Linked DNA regions of Homo sapiens: all the other regions are linked to region 1. The links are contacts of gene promoters, found by promoter capture Hi-C in blood cells and fetal thymus (Javierre and others, 2016). All regions are on one chromosome and are shown on one strand. The core of a region is centred on a gene start or on the middle of the fragment in contact, and the rest is flanking DNA. Distances in the headings are between cores, read along the strand shown.

Evidence for each region. Contacts are between HindIII fragments. The CHiCAGO score rates a contact against its expected background, and 5 or more counts as called.
Region 2: a fragment that was not itself captured here is called in contact with the fragment with the promoter of RPE65 in region 1 in 1 of 17 cell types (M2 macrophages); the score reaches 5.9 in M2 macrophages.
Region 3: a fragment that was not itself captured here is called in contact with the fragment with the promoter of RPE65 in region 1 in 1 of 17 cell types (M2 macrophages); the score reaches 5.0 in M2 macrophages.
Region 4: a fragment that was not itself captured here is called in contact with the fragment with the promoter of RPE65 in region 1 in 7 of 17 cell types (M2 macrophages, M0 macrophages, M1 macrophages and 4 more); the score reaches 17.7 in M2 macrophages.
Region 5: a contact is called between a fragment that was not itself captured here and the fragment with the promoter of RPE65 in region 1, in 2 of 17 cell types (M2 macrophages and endothelial precursors). The highest score is 6.8, in M2 macrophages.

What each region holds. Positions count from the first base shown.
Region 1 is chr1:68,448,704-68,451,403 of GRCh38, reverse strand. It overlaps RPE65 (retinoid isomerohydrolase RPE65), which reads left to right and starts at 1,450. Exons shown (of 14, transcript NM_000329.3): 1 at 1,450-1,509; 2 at 2,698-2,700. The coding sequence starts at 1,499. It overlaps LOC124904198 (a long non-coding RNA gene), which reads right to left. Exons shown (of 2, transcript XR_007066164.1): 2 at 1-2,700. The HindIII fragment of the contact is 10,150 bases long and covers 1-2,700 here.
Region 2 is chr1:69,759,758-69,762,457 of GRCh38, reverse strand. LRRC7 (leucine rich repeat containing 7) reads right to left here. Exons shown (of 27, transcript NM_001370785.2): 3 at 2,065-2,267. LOC124904199 (a long non-coding RNA gene) reads left to right here and starts at 1,650. Exons shown (of 2, transcript XR_007066167.1): 1 at 1,650-1,913. The HindIII fragment of the contact is 2,180 bases long and covers 167-2,346 here.
Region 3 is chr1:69,684,429-69,687,128 of GRCh38, reverse strand. All of the region lies in intron 2 of LRRC7 (leucine rich repeat containing 7), which reads right to left. Among named protein-coding and RNA genes, the nearest start is that of LRRC7, 120 kb to the right of the region's middle. The HindIII fragment of the contact is 2,216 bases long and covers 324-2,539 here.
Region 4 is chr1:69,730,092-69,732,791 of GRCh38, reverse strand. The region is part of intron 2 of LRRC7 (leucine rich repeat containing 7); the gene reads right to left. Among named protein-coding and RNA genes, the nearest start is that of LRRC7, 160 kb to the right of the region's middle. The HindIII fragment of the contact is 3,762 bases long and covers 1-2,700 here.
Region 5 is chr1:69,706,619-69,709,318 of GRCh38, reverse strand. All of the region lies in intron 2 of LRRC7 (leucine rich repeat containing 7), which reads right to left. Among named protein-coding and RNA genes, the nearest start is that of LRRC7, 140 kb to the right of the region's middle. The HindIII fragment of the contact is 5,159 bases long and covers 1-2,700 here.

The DNA of each region.
Region 1 (2,700 bases), core at 201-2,700:
CTTTGAGGAGAAGTTTCTTATTTGAAATATTTTGGAAACAGGTCTTTTAATGTGGAAAGATAGATATTAATCTCCTCTTCTATTACTCTCCAAGATCCAACAAAAGTGATTATACCCCCCAAAATATGATGGTAGTATCTTATACTACCATCATTTTATAGGCATAGGGCTCTTAGCTGCAAATAATGGAACTAACTCTAATAAAGCAGAACGCAAATATTGTAAATATTAGAGAGCTAACAATCTCTGGGATGGCTAAAGGATGGAGCTTGGAGGCTACCCAGCCAGTAACAATATTCCGGGCTCCACTGTTGAATGGAGACACTACAACTGCCTTGGATGGGCAGAGATATTATGGATGCTAAGCCCCAGGTGCTACCATTAGGACTTCTACCACTGTCCCTAACGGGTGGAGCCCATCACATGCCTATGCCCTCACTGTAAGGAAATGAAGCTACTGTTGTATATCTTGGGAAGCACTTGGATTAATTGTTATACAGTTTTGTTGAAGAAGACCCCTAGGGTAAGTAGCCATAACTGCACACTAAATTTAAAATTGTTAATGAGTTTCTCAAAAAAAATGTTAAGGTTGTTAGCTGGTATAGTATATATCTTGCCTGTTTTCCAAGGACTTCTTTGGGCAGTACCTTGTCTGTGCTGGCAAGCAACTGAGACTTAATGAAAGAGTATTGGAGATATGAATGAATTGATGCTGTATACTCTCAGAGTGCCAAACATATACCAATGGACAAGAAGGTGAGGCAGAGAGCAGACAGGCATTAGTGACAAGCAAAGATATGCAGAATTTCATTCTCAGCAAATCAAAAGTCCTCAACCTGGTTGGAAGAATATTGGCACTGAATGGTATCAATAAGGTTGCTAGAGAGGGTTAGAGGTGCACAATGTGCTTCCATAACATTTTATACTTCTCCAATCTTAGCACTAATCAAACATGGTTGAATACTTTGTTTACTATAACTCTTACAGAGTTATAAGATCTGTGAAGACAGGGACAGGGACAATACCCATCTCTGTCTGGTTCATAGGTGGTATGTAATAGATATTTTTAAAAATAAGTGAGTTAATGAATGAGGGTGAGAATGAAGGCACAGAGGTATTAGGGGGAGGTGGGCCCCAGAGAATGGTGCCAAGGTCCAGTGGGGTGACTGGGATCAGCTCAGGCCTGACGCTGGCCACTCCCACCTAGCTCCTTTCTTTCTAATCTGTTCTCATTCTCCTTGGGAAGGATTGAGGTCTCTGGAAAACAGCCAAACAACTGTTATGGGAACAGCAAGCCCAAATAAAGCCAAGCATCAGGGGGATCTGAGAGCTGAAAGCAACTTCTGTTCCCCCTCCCTCAGCTGAAGGGGTGGGGAAGGGCTCCCAAAGCCATAACTCCTTTTAAGGGATTTAGAAGGCATAAAAAGGCCCCTGGCTGAGAACTTCCTTCTTCATTCTGCAGTTGGTGCCAGAACTCTGGATCCTGAACTGGAAGAAAATGTCTATCCAGTAAGTATCTCTGGGAGACTTTTTTAAAACACCTTCATGGATTCATGATAAATGTGCTATTTCAAGGGCTCCTGAAGAGAAGGCATTGATTAATGACCTGTTTAGGAAAGACCCTTGAATTTTGGTGGGGAAATTTTTTCCTGCTTATGTATTAAAGCAACTAGCTAGAATTCAGGTCCAAATTATGGGGGGTTTGTGTGACTTAGCCCGGGGTTTGGAAGCAGTCTTGAGTATGGGGATTTCAGACAGACTTGGGCTCCACTCCTTGCCCAGTCATTTCCTAGTGTGTGACTTTGGACAAATTACCTAACTTTTTAAGTCTAGCTTTTCCTGTATATAGAAAGATGTCACAATAGCTTTTACTCCATTATGTTACTGTGAGATTTAAAAGAGATAATACCATGCAAAGTTCTTTTTATGGTATGTAGGACATAGTAATTGTTTAGTAAAAGGTAATTATTATAATTGAGTCTGGTCAGAGATTCCACTCTTTGAAGTTACAACATGAAACTGAACAGAGGATGTAGAAAGTAAACAAAAATATAGAACCTGAATCTCCTGGTCTGACTATGATGAAAAAGTACTGTAGGTCTTGGGGATTGGTAGAGAAATGAGATGATGGGGAAAAAATTATGGTATAATATGAGTGAATAATGAAAGATGAGGTACCTGACCCAAAAAGCTGTCATCTCTCAACCCCTAGGAAGGAGATAAATGGGTCTCTCCTTGAGGCAAGAAAATCAATGATGCTGTGAGCTGAGCATGTTGATAGGGTGGGAGAATACTGTGGGAAGGACCCTGTTTAGGAACAAATTTCAGGAAGTGAACTGATGGCAGTAGGATTGATTGATTTGTCTTCCGAAGTAAGGAAAAACTGCAGAGGACAGGATTAAGTTCACTGTAACCATTGACATTAAAAGAGAGGTCATGTCTCTTGACATCAGAGCAGTGATCTGGGACCCCCTTCCATACCTGAGTAGTCTTCCCCACCCCCAGCCTCACGTGCTCCTCCCGCCCTCACCTTCGCTTCTCCCCCCACCCCCACCCCCACCCAGCTGAGACTAGACCGGCAGGAGTGAACAGGCTTTGAGCCAGCCCTAGAGTGCCTTCTCTCCTGCAGCTCTGCCTCTATCTCTGCGGACTTTGAGCATCAACATGGGCTTCTTCCTTATTCTTCCACCATTTCAGGGT
Region 2 (2,700 bases), core at 7-2,506, 1.3 Mb before region 1:
GAGCTCTTCTCTATACATACGCTCTACAATGGTACTTGGCTCTTTGGCTCCGATTATACATCACCGAGCACTTGCCTCTAATGCTTCAGTTTTTCTCTGTAATTAGGTTGTCAGATCCGGAAGGGCAGAGATCGAGATTTATTTCTCTTGTAACCTCCCTAAAGCTTCAAGTACTGTGTAGTAGAATGGATATTAAATAAATACTTGCTTGATAAATTAACCATGTTTTTACTACCTATCTTACAAAATTTGTTGCATAGAAATGGAAAAAGATTTAAAATGACCAGATTGGCCTAGGGTTGCTAGATTTAGCAAATAAAAATACAGGATGATAAGTTAAATTTGAACATCATGTAAATAAAAAAAATTTTTTTAGTGTAAATGTATCCCATACAAAATTTGGGACATAATTTTACAAAAATGTTGTCTGTTTCTGAATTTAAAAGTAAAATATAACTGGGTGTCCTCTATTTCTTTCTGGCAATCCTAGATTGGCCTGACCTAGAAACCCGCCACCCCCCATGCCTATTTTCCTAAATTAGAATGGGTTACCACATTTATGACTTATGCAAACTTATATACTTTTGCTAATCAAGTCCTGTGGCATATGAAGTTCTCTGCATTGTTCTCTCAGTCAGGGACAACAGAGACTCAGTATCTATTATGTGAAATTCATCATGCCTGCCCATGTACCAGGAAACAGAGATGAATACGGTGCCATCTTTGCCCTTAAGTAGTTCCTCATCTGGTACAACAGACAGTCTATTTCACTCCAGGCTTTAGTTGATGTGCAATCCTAGTGTGAATCCATGTAGTCAATAATATTTTTTATAGGCCTGACCTACCTCTAAAAAATACACTATACCTGTGTATAGTGTCATCTAAGGAAATATCCCAGATGACACAATACACAGATTGTCAAAAATGAAGTATATTGTTTTTGAAGTACATGTTAAAAAGTTCTTAACTTTGAAGTGTTATGTAAACAGCACAATTTATAATTCTACATTTGATCTTAGCCAAAAGGCCGGCAAATGATAATTTATAACTTTAAATAAAAATAATTATTCATAATTTATTTTGATCAGCATATTGAAATATCAGATTCTGATAATTAATTTCAAGTTTTTATTGTGGAAGATTCTTTTTCTGATTACTGCATATTTAATATACATTTTTACTTTTTAGCATAAGCAACAGAAATTGAGTGCATGACGTTTTTTTCCCTTCTCAGCCGTATAAATCCTTCACAGGTAAATACCATGCTAACTACTTAATCTGGGTTACTTACTTAGGTGACTGTTAGGATCCCTTGATTTAGATTTTGAACTTCTCTGCTGTGTGGTCTTGGTCTGCTTTAGCTAATCTCTTATCATCCAGTCTTTTCTGCAATAAGGACTAAGGTCACAGGAGACCTGGTTTTCTTTGCATGGCACAATGCCATAATGGCAGTGTGTGTGTGTGCAGGTGTGCACGTGTGTGTGTGTGTGTGTGTGTATGTGCACAAAGTTTGATAGTTTCAAATTCCTAGTAAACTTTTTACTAGTTTTATGCCACATACATCCAGTGCTACTTGTAATAATCAAATATTTTACATACAGGTACAAAAACATGTTTTTCATAATAGCATTAATGTGTGTAAAAGCATTTCTTAGACTTACAGCATACAATTCAAGGTTGTAATATAATGTCACCTTAATATACAACATAGAAATTTTCAGTTCTGGAGTAGTGTCATATTTTTCCTTTCTTTCTAAACATAAACTATTGATCTCAACCCTCTACTCTATATTTTTATAGAGGTCATTTTAAATGAAGATAACGAGGCATAATCCATCAAATGGTGGTTTCCATAGAGCTCAATTTGTTATTAACAGAGGCCCGTGAAATCATAAATGGAGTAACATTAAAAGGTAATGAGAATATTGGGGGAAGTTATATCAATTTCAATGACTTGTCAGTTACCTAGATAGGAGCCCATAGTTCACATTACCATTATAATAAAGTATTTGAAAATTATGAAATACTCATTTACATTGTATATTTTAGGTTGTCAAAAGTTACCTTGGGTAGTTCTTCAATTTGATTGGCATCTAGATAAAGCTCCTCTAATGTTCGTTCGAAGTTAAAGACCTCCTTTGGCACCTGCTGAAGACTGCAGTGGGAGTAATCTAAAACTGAGATGATTTCTTCTTCACCTCGGAAACATCGGCATGGCACCAGACGGCCGATGATTTTCCGTTTGGTGGTCATCTCCAGGCACTGCACTAGAGAAACGCAGAAACAAAACAAAACAAAACAGCTTATCCAGTGCCCTTGGAAGGCATTCTTGTAATATTTAAAGCTTAGAAATTTAATTTTGGTATACAGTCTAGAATACTTTAAAGTAGGACACACACACGCATTGTATCATTAAATCCTTAAACAGCCCTGCGAAGTACGTGAAATAGGTTTTATTCCCATCTAGCAAATTCGAAAATGGGCTCAAAAAGTGCGAGAGATTTCCCATCATCACACAGCTTTGGAATGGCAGAATCGAATTAGGATACAATCCTGTCTCAGTTCAATGCTACTAGCATGCTTACCTCCTCACTTGAAACATGGAGCTATAATATGTTTTCTATTTTTACACAAATTACAGTGTAGAACAGAAACTTCCAGAATTTGCGGAAAAAAACATTTCTCCCATTTCTGTAAAAA
Region 3 (2,700 bases), core at 182-2,681, 1.2 Mb before region 1:
AATCAATAAAAAGATACAGCAAAGCTAATGAAACAAAATTTAAGAAAATACATATTTGTAAAATTAAATCGAATACATACAATTTCATGATTATTAAGTCCTCTTGATGAACTGACCTTTTTTATCCCTTGTAATATGTTTTGCTTTGAAGTTACCTTTATCTTGATATTAATATAGTCACTCTAGCTTTCATTTAAATAATTTAGCATGGTATTTCTTTTTCTATCCCTTTATATTTAACCTTTTTTTTATTTTTGCATCTAAAGGACATTTTTATAAGCAACATATAGTTGGTCTTTCTTTTTTATCTAATCTGACAAGCTTTGTCTTTTAACCATGGTATTTACACCATTTACACTTAATGTAATTATTGATGTATTAGGACTTAAGTCTAATACATCTAATTTTATTATTTGTTTTCTGTTCTGTTCTCTTGGTTTCTTGTTTCTATGTTTCTTTTTCCTTCACATCCTCTAGGTTACATGAGTATATTTAGTTCACCTTTGATTTACTTATAATGTTTTTGAGTGTATTATTTTGTAGTCTTCTTAGTGGTTGCTCTAGGTATTACAATATACGTAACTTATCACAGTCTACTGGTATCAGTGTTATACCATTTCAAGTGAAGTAGAGAAACCTTATATCAATTTAGGTCCCTTTACCCTTTCCACTTTTTAAATATTAATTGACTTATTTCATCTACATACATGTGCACCACATCAGATGGTATTATAGTTTTTGCTTCAACCATGAAACATAAGGTAAAGAAAATTCTATTATTCATACTTCTGTTTTTATTCATTCTACTGTTCTTTACTTCCTGAAGGTACAAGTCTTCTTTTGTTAAACTTTTCCTTTGTGTTTGGAGAGTTCTGTGTAGCCATTGTGTTGGGGAAGGTTTGTTAGCAACAAATTCTCTCAGTTTTCTTTCTGCTGAGAGTGATTTTATTTCTCCTTCATTGCTGAAGGATGGTTTAGTTGGATATAGGATTCAGAGTTGACAATTCTTATAATACTTGAAAATCTTGTATGTCATTTCCTTCTGGCCTCTGTGGTTTCAGATGAAAATATACTGTCATTTTAATTGATGCTTCTTTATATGTAATGTGTTATTTCTGTTCCTTTATATGTAATGTGTTATTGCACTCTGGCTGTTTTAAATATTTTTCTTTATCTTTGGTTCTCACAAGTTTAATTATGAAATGTCCTGTTGTGGATTTTTTTTTTTTGGTTTATCTTCTTTGGAGTTGACCCAGCTTCTTGAATATCTAGATTTACGTCTTTTGTCAACTTTTAGAAGTTTGCAACCATTACTTCTTCAAATACTTTTTCTGTCCCATACTCCTTCTCCTCTCCTGGGACTCTGATGATACAAATATTATATATGTTATTATTTTTCCACAAATCCCTGAGGTTCTGTTCATTTTTGTTTAGTGTATATTCTCCTTGTTGTTCATATTGAGTAAATTCCACTAATCTACATATTCATTTAATCTCTTTTCTGTAATTTTCACTCTACTATTGATTCAATTAAGTGATATTTTTATTTTGGTAATTTTGGTTTTCAGTTACATAATTTCCATTTGGTTCTTTTTTATAACTTCTTTTTTTTCCCCTGAGATTTTCTGTTTTTCTTCACTTGTTTCAAGAGATTATATAATTGTCTCCTGAAGCATTCTTATGATGGATGCTTCAGTCTCCTTCTCAGAAATTCCATTATCTAATTTGTCTTAGTATTGGGGTCAGTGGATTGTCTTTTGTCAGACTGTGGTTTTTCTGGTTCATGGTATGATGGGTTACAGTCAACTGCATTTTGAATATTTTGATTATTATGTTAGGAGACTTTTAACCCTATTGAAACCTTTTATTTTAGCAGGTATGTATCCTGTTTAGGTTTAGCTTATAGGTTTTGGACTAATTTTGTGGGCTTTAGTTCCAATGGCAGTTAGTGTTCTGATTTTTTATAATGCTAATGCTGATCTGGTCTGCTTCATTCTTCTGGCACTGTCGGGGCTTCTGCTAAAACTCTGCTGGTGTCATCCGCTAGAGTTAAAAGTGCTGCTCTGGATTCTCTAATATTCCTAGGTAAACCTCTGGGAAGGCACAGAAGCCACTGAGCCTGGGTCTCTTTATGACACTGGGTGAAAGATAGGAAGACACAGGGCTTTACTGCTGCCACCATTACCACCAGATAGGTCTGCCCACCAGGGAGAGCAGAGCAGGGATGGCCTGGGGCCTTACTGTTCTGTTTCTGCAGGTGAATTGAACTGCCTGTCGATTGGGATTATAGAATAAGATATCGGTGGCTCTCTTCCAAACCTCTGTTGTTTTTCTCTCTCTTGGTCCTCTGGACTGAGCGAGTAGGCTTTGCTTTTTTTTTCCTTCTTTTCTTCATGCCTGTTGACAGTACCAGATTGCAAGCCTCTCTGGTATGCAGTCCAGGGATGTATAGGAGATAAAAAGAAAATGCAAGAAGCATACCATGATGTCTTTCTTCAAGTCCTGTTGTCCTAGTCAGTTTGCCTTCTTCTCTGAAGCTTTCAGAGTCCTTTCAAAATGGTCTGTTGAAGAATTTTTCCAGAGTGTTTAGCTTCATTTAGAATTGAGTATCAGGAAAGGTGAGTCTATGCCATCTGTTCCAGAATCAAAAGCTTGGCCTTCCCTCCCCTTCTTTCACCTTCCTTCCAACTCTCTTTTTCT
Region 4 (2,700 bases), core at 127-2,626, 1.3 Mb before region 1:
CATCCTCATTCACATTTAATTTTTAGTTCAAGTAAACTAAAATATTTTTGTATATAAAAAGGAGACAGATGAACTCTTCATTTTCTCAAAATTTAGAATCCAAATATTGCAAGTATATATAAAGCCCAATTGAGGATTGAAGAATTCTGTTTTCTTCAGTATGGGACTTTATTATTATATTTACTTAAATCTAATCTTTCTAGATTATTGTCCCTGCTTGTCCATATGAAACTTAAAAAAAATTCTCTTGCAACAGAATGTTAACATACTGGCCTTTAAATAATTGCTCTTTTAAAGTTCTGTGAATTTGGGAAAACTATTGGATCCTTTATTTCTAAGTTTTCAGGGACTTTTTTAAAACCTGACCAGAGCTTTTGGAATTTCTCACTGACTGCATATTTTAGTCATAACAGTGTTCATCTTTCCTTGAGCAATTAGCTGTATGTATTTTTTTTCCCTATTTTTCATTAGATTGTGTAAATCTATCGAACTTTAAAAAATTCTAAACAACCTTTAAAAAATCTTTTTTTGCCCTAGTATTAAGTATTTCCTTTATTTAAAAAAATATTTAGCTTTTTCTTGAAGTTATCTTCCAGACATTTTTAAATAAAGTCAGTATTTTAAAAACTAGCTAATTATTATTACTACTAAATTGGAATTACTTTTGTAACATGTAATACTTTTTTTAATCGAGAGTCTGTTTTCCTTTTTTATTTCATGTTCTAGGCACTGAATGGCTCAAATAATCGTTCCATTGGTATAAAAGAAATCAAGCAAAACACTTTGTCTAGTATTTTAAATATATTAACTAGTTAGCAATAAACATGTTATTTTTGTTCTATAAGGGGAAAATTTAGGGACAGTAGAGAGGACATTTTCACATTTTACTTGGAAGTACCCAGATAACTTCTCACTAATAATAAGCAAGATCTTGTAATAATGTAGCTCCTATTTCATAAGTGCTTATAAACTGCCCAGAACATCTAATGATATTCTCCCTCTTTCAAAATTCATCAATAGAGAATCCTTGTATAGATTTGCTAACTTTCATAGATGGAGACACCTTTTAATACTTTGGACATTGAACATTTTGTCCCAGATAATGTTTTTCAAATTGGTTCTGCAATAGCAAAGTGAACACCTTTCAAATGTACAATGCAAACAAAAAGTTACCTTTGAAGAGGATGTCTAAATACATTTATCATTCTCTTTTTCAGAGGGCTAAGTTAGGAACAGTTTATTTCCTGTTAGCATCCTCCAAATAAGCACATTTTCTTGTGTTTCTTCCACATTTTGGTAAAACAATAGTAAGTTTATACTTGATATGGTTGGGCTATATCTCCACCCAAATCTTATCTTGAATTGTAGTTCCCATAATCCCCACATATTGTGGGAGGAACCTGGTGGGAGGTAATTGAATCATGGGGGCAGTTACCCACATGCTGCTGTTCTTGTAATAGTGAGTGAGTTCTCATGAGGTCTCATGGTTTTTTTGGGGGTGGGGGTAATGGAGTCTTGCTGGAGTGCAGTGGCGTGATCTTGGCTCACTGCAAGCTCAGCCTCCCAGGTTCACACCATTCTCTAGCCTCAGCCTCCCGAGTAGCTGGGACTACAGACGCCCGCCACCACATCCGGCTATTTTTTTGTATTTTTAGTAGAGATGGGGTTTCACTGCATTAGCATAAGATGGTCTCTATCTCCTGACTTCATGATCCGCCCACCTCAGCCTCCCAAGGTGCTGGGATTACAGGTGTGAGCCACTGCACCCGGCCGAGATCTCATGGTTTTATAAGGAGCTTTTTCCCCTTTTTCTCGGCACTGCTTGCTGCCGCCATGTGAAGATAGATATTCTTGATTCCCCTTCTGTTATGATTGTAAGTTTTCTGAGGCCTCCTGAGCCCTGAATTGTGAGTCAATTAAAGCTCTTTCCTTTATAAATTACCTAGTCTCAGGTATATCTTTATTAGTAGTATGAGAACAGACTAATACAGTAAATTGGCACCAGGTAGTGGGGAGCTGCTCTAAAGATAGCTGAAAATGTGGAAGCTACTTTGGAACTGGTAATAGGCAGAGGTTGGGACAGTTGGAAGCGTTCAGAAGAAGATAGGAAAATGTGGAAAAGTTTGGAGCTTCCTAGAGACTTGGAGGACTCAGAAGAAAGGAAGATGTGGAAAAGTTTGGAGTTGCCTAGAAACTTGAATGGCTTTGACCAAAATGTTAATAGTGATATGGACAATAAAGTGCAGGATGAGGTGGTCTCAGATGGAGATGAGGAACTTGGAAACTGGAGTAAAAGTCACTCTTGCTAAGCAAAGAGACTGGTGGCATTTTGTCCCTGCCCTTGAGATCTGTGGAACTTTGAACTTGAGAGGGATGATTTAGGGTATCTGATGGAAGAAATTTCTATGCAGCAAAGCACTTAAGAGGAAGCAGGGAATAAAAGTTTAAAAAATTTGCAGCCTGACAACGCTGTAAAAAAGAAAAACCCATTTTCTGGAAAGACATTCAAGCCCACTGCAGAAATTTACATAAGTAACCAGATGCCAAATACTAATCACCAAGACAATGGGGAAAATGTCTCCAGGGATGTCAGAGACCCTCATGGCAGCCCCTCTCATCACAGGCCTGAAGGCCTAGGAGGGAAAAATGGTTTCTTGGGCCAGGTCAAGGGCCCCCTGCTGTGTGCAGCTTCAGGACTTG
Region 5 (2,700 bases), core at 147-2,646, 1.3 Mb before region 1:
TCTTGTGATCTTTTTATCCTCTGTTTCCCTGGTAAGCTGCAAATACCCAGTTGGCATAGCTACAAATGAGAGCCTCTCAATCTGCACTGAACTGTGACATGAAGGAGAAATAAACTTTACTATGTTATTTTGGAGTTTAATTTTGGAGTTTAATTTCTTACCACTGCATAGTCTATTCTTTCCTGTCTAATACAAAGTTTCATGAGCAAGACAGACACTAATCAAATAGTTACAGAAAATACAATTGCTTTGAAGGGAACAATCTGAGTGCTCTGAACTGAAGTAACAGGGAAGCCTTTTTGTAGTAGATCGGATAATATTTCAGAAATATTTAATCCCTCCCTTATTTTCATAGAAGGAATATACCAGTGATGTTGGTTGGGTTTGGCTTTGTGACTTGCTTTAGTCAATAAAATAGGTGGAAGTAATGGTGGACCGGTTCTCAATTTATCCCTTAAAAGGTCTTGTGTGTTTCTGCTCACATTGTTCCATTTCTGCCACACATAAAGGCTATAAAAGAAACCTGTCCAGGTTAGCCCACTGGCCCTAGGAGGAATATGAGCGACATATGGAGCAGAGTTGTACCAACAGAGACTCCTTAGATCAGCTGACCTCCAGACATGAACATGCCCATATGAGATCAGCACAACCACTGAGTGAAGTCTATCCTTACCATCAGGCCCCCAACCAATGCTCACACATTTGGCCTAAATAGATGTTTAGAATTGCATACCACAGAAATTTTGTTATTGATATACACACTATTACACTAATAACTAACTGACATATCTTCTCAGATAAAGACCTCAATGAGGTGGTAACAGTTTAGTGAACACCTAAAGGAAGAAAATTCTGGGAGAAGAAACAACGTTCAAAAAGGCACTAAGGTATGTGGTATATTTTAAGGAACTCGATGGTCAGTATGCCTAAGCCTAATAAGCATGAAGGAGGGGGTTTCAGTAATAGATGGGGGAGATCAGTCCTTGTAGACTGTGGTAGGAAATTAATTTTTAAATTTTACAACATCCAATAGGGACTGTTGAAGGATAGCTTAAAGGTGGGAAATGAATTGGAAGAGAAGACAGAAATACTTGACTTGAAAATTCACTTATATATATAGCAAACACATTGTTTTTACTTAGGTTTTATGTGTCATACGTATATATTGTGGCTTTAAGGGTGCTGATGGACATCAGAGGCCCTTCTACATTTCCACTTGGTACTTCTAAGAATGCCAGATAAGGCAGAAGGACTGGTGAAGCTCTGACCAATTTTACTGAACATGACTGATCTCTCAGCCTACTTTTGTTAGCCTAATAGTGTATATAAAGGATACTCAAGGGTTTCTTTGCAAAATGAGTACTCTCTTATACCACCCGTTAGAACCATGTGGTCCAGCAGAGTATATAATGTGCAGTGAAGGATACAGAGGAGTCATAAACTGACCATTATAACAAAATGAAATCTGCATCTCACCTTGGTCTGTCTGGGTCTTTATTGCACTTCATTAGTTCTAAAGCAAGAGTCTGCTTCCTCACAAGTCTCTATGACTCTAACTTTACCTACCTCCAAGACTATAATCTAGTCTAGAGATGACTTTCTAAAACATTTTTATTATGCATGTTTGACTTGGGGGCAAGGAAACAAGAGTGAGGAAAAGGAAAATTAGCATTTACTGAATGCATATTTTATTCTAGATATTATCTTAGGTGATTAGAGATTATATCTTTATCAGGTTGGTTTCCCCTGCCTCAGACTGCCTGAGACAGAGTTGAGAATAAATAATTTTTTTGGGAGGGAATACCAGGAAACACCAATAAAAGAGTAAAGAAATAAAACAGGGAAGGAAAGGAAGCCAGAAATTGGCGCGTAATAAAGCAGATTACCAATCTGGGTAACTGAGGCTCTATTCTGCGGGCAGATGCTGACAGACACTGTGGAATATGCCTCAGGGTGACTCAGCAGAGGGATGAAGAGGGTTGGCTATTTATTCTTCTACTCCCATCTGTCAATAATGGAAGGCTGCATCTGGGGGCATTCTCTCCTCTGTACTTACAGGCTGCATTGAACACAAGCCGAAAGACTGTTCTCAGGCAGATATGACAGTGTCTGCACTTACATGCCATGGCATGACTGGAATAACAAGGATCAAATGGACATGGGAGGATTCTCAACAGCTACAGAAACTTTTTTTTATTTATTCCTCATTAATCATCATCATTTTAGACCCTTAATTCCCTTATTGCTCAACTTAAAGACACATCCTACCACACTCTAAAACTTGTTTCTTTCCTTCTGATTCCTTATCACAATTGTTTACTGGTAATTTTATCCTTTTTTGTATATTTTCTGTATTTGTCATTAGACTGTGAGCATCATAAGGCCCAGAACCGAATTTATTTTATTCATCAACATCAAATACAAAGTAGGAACCACTTGAGATTTGTTGAATCAATGAATAAAAACATCTCTATGACATAGGTAGTGTGTTCTTCGTTAATGGGTGGGAAGCTGTGGCCATACTGGTGGGGACAGAATTCCAATACAGGAAAGTCTGACATAAATCCCATACTCTACCACACTGTGATAATGACACCATGCTGTGTTCCTGCTTCCTGCCTCAGAAACTCAATTATTGTCTATTTCCTGCATCATTAAATCTTATCTCCTCTGCCTGACTTTCAAATCCTTCTATAATCA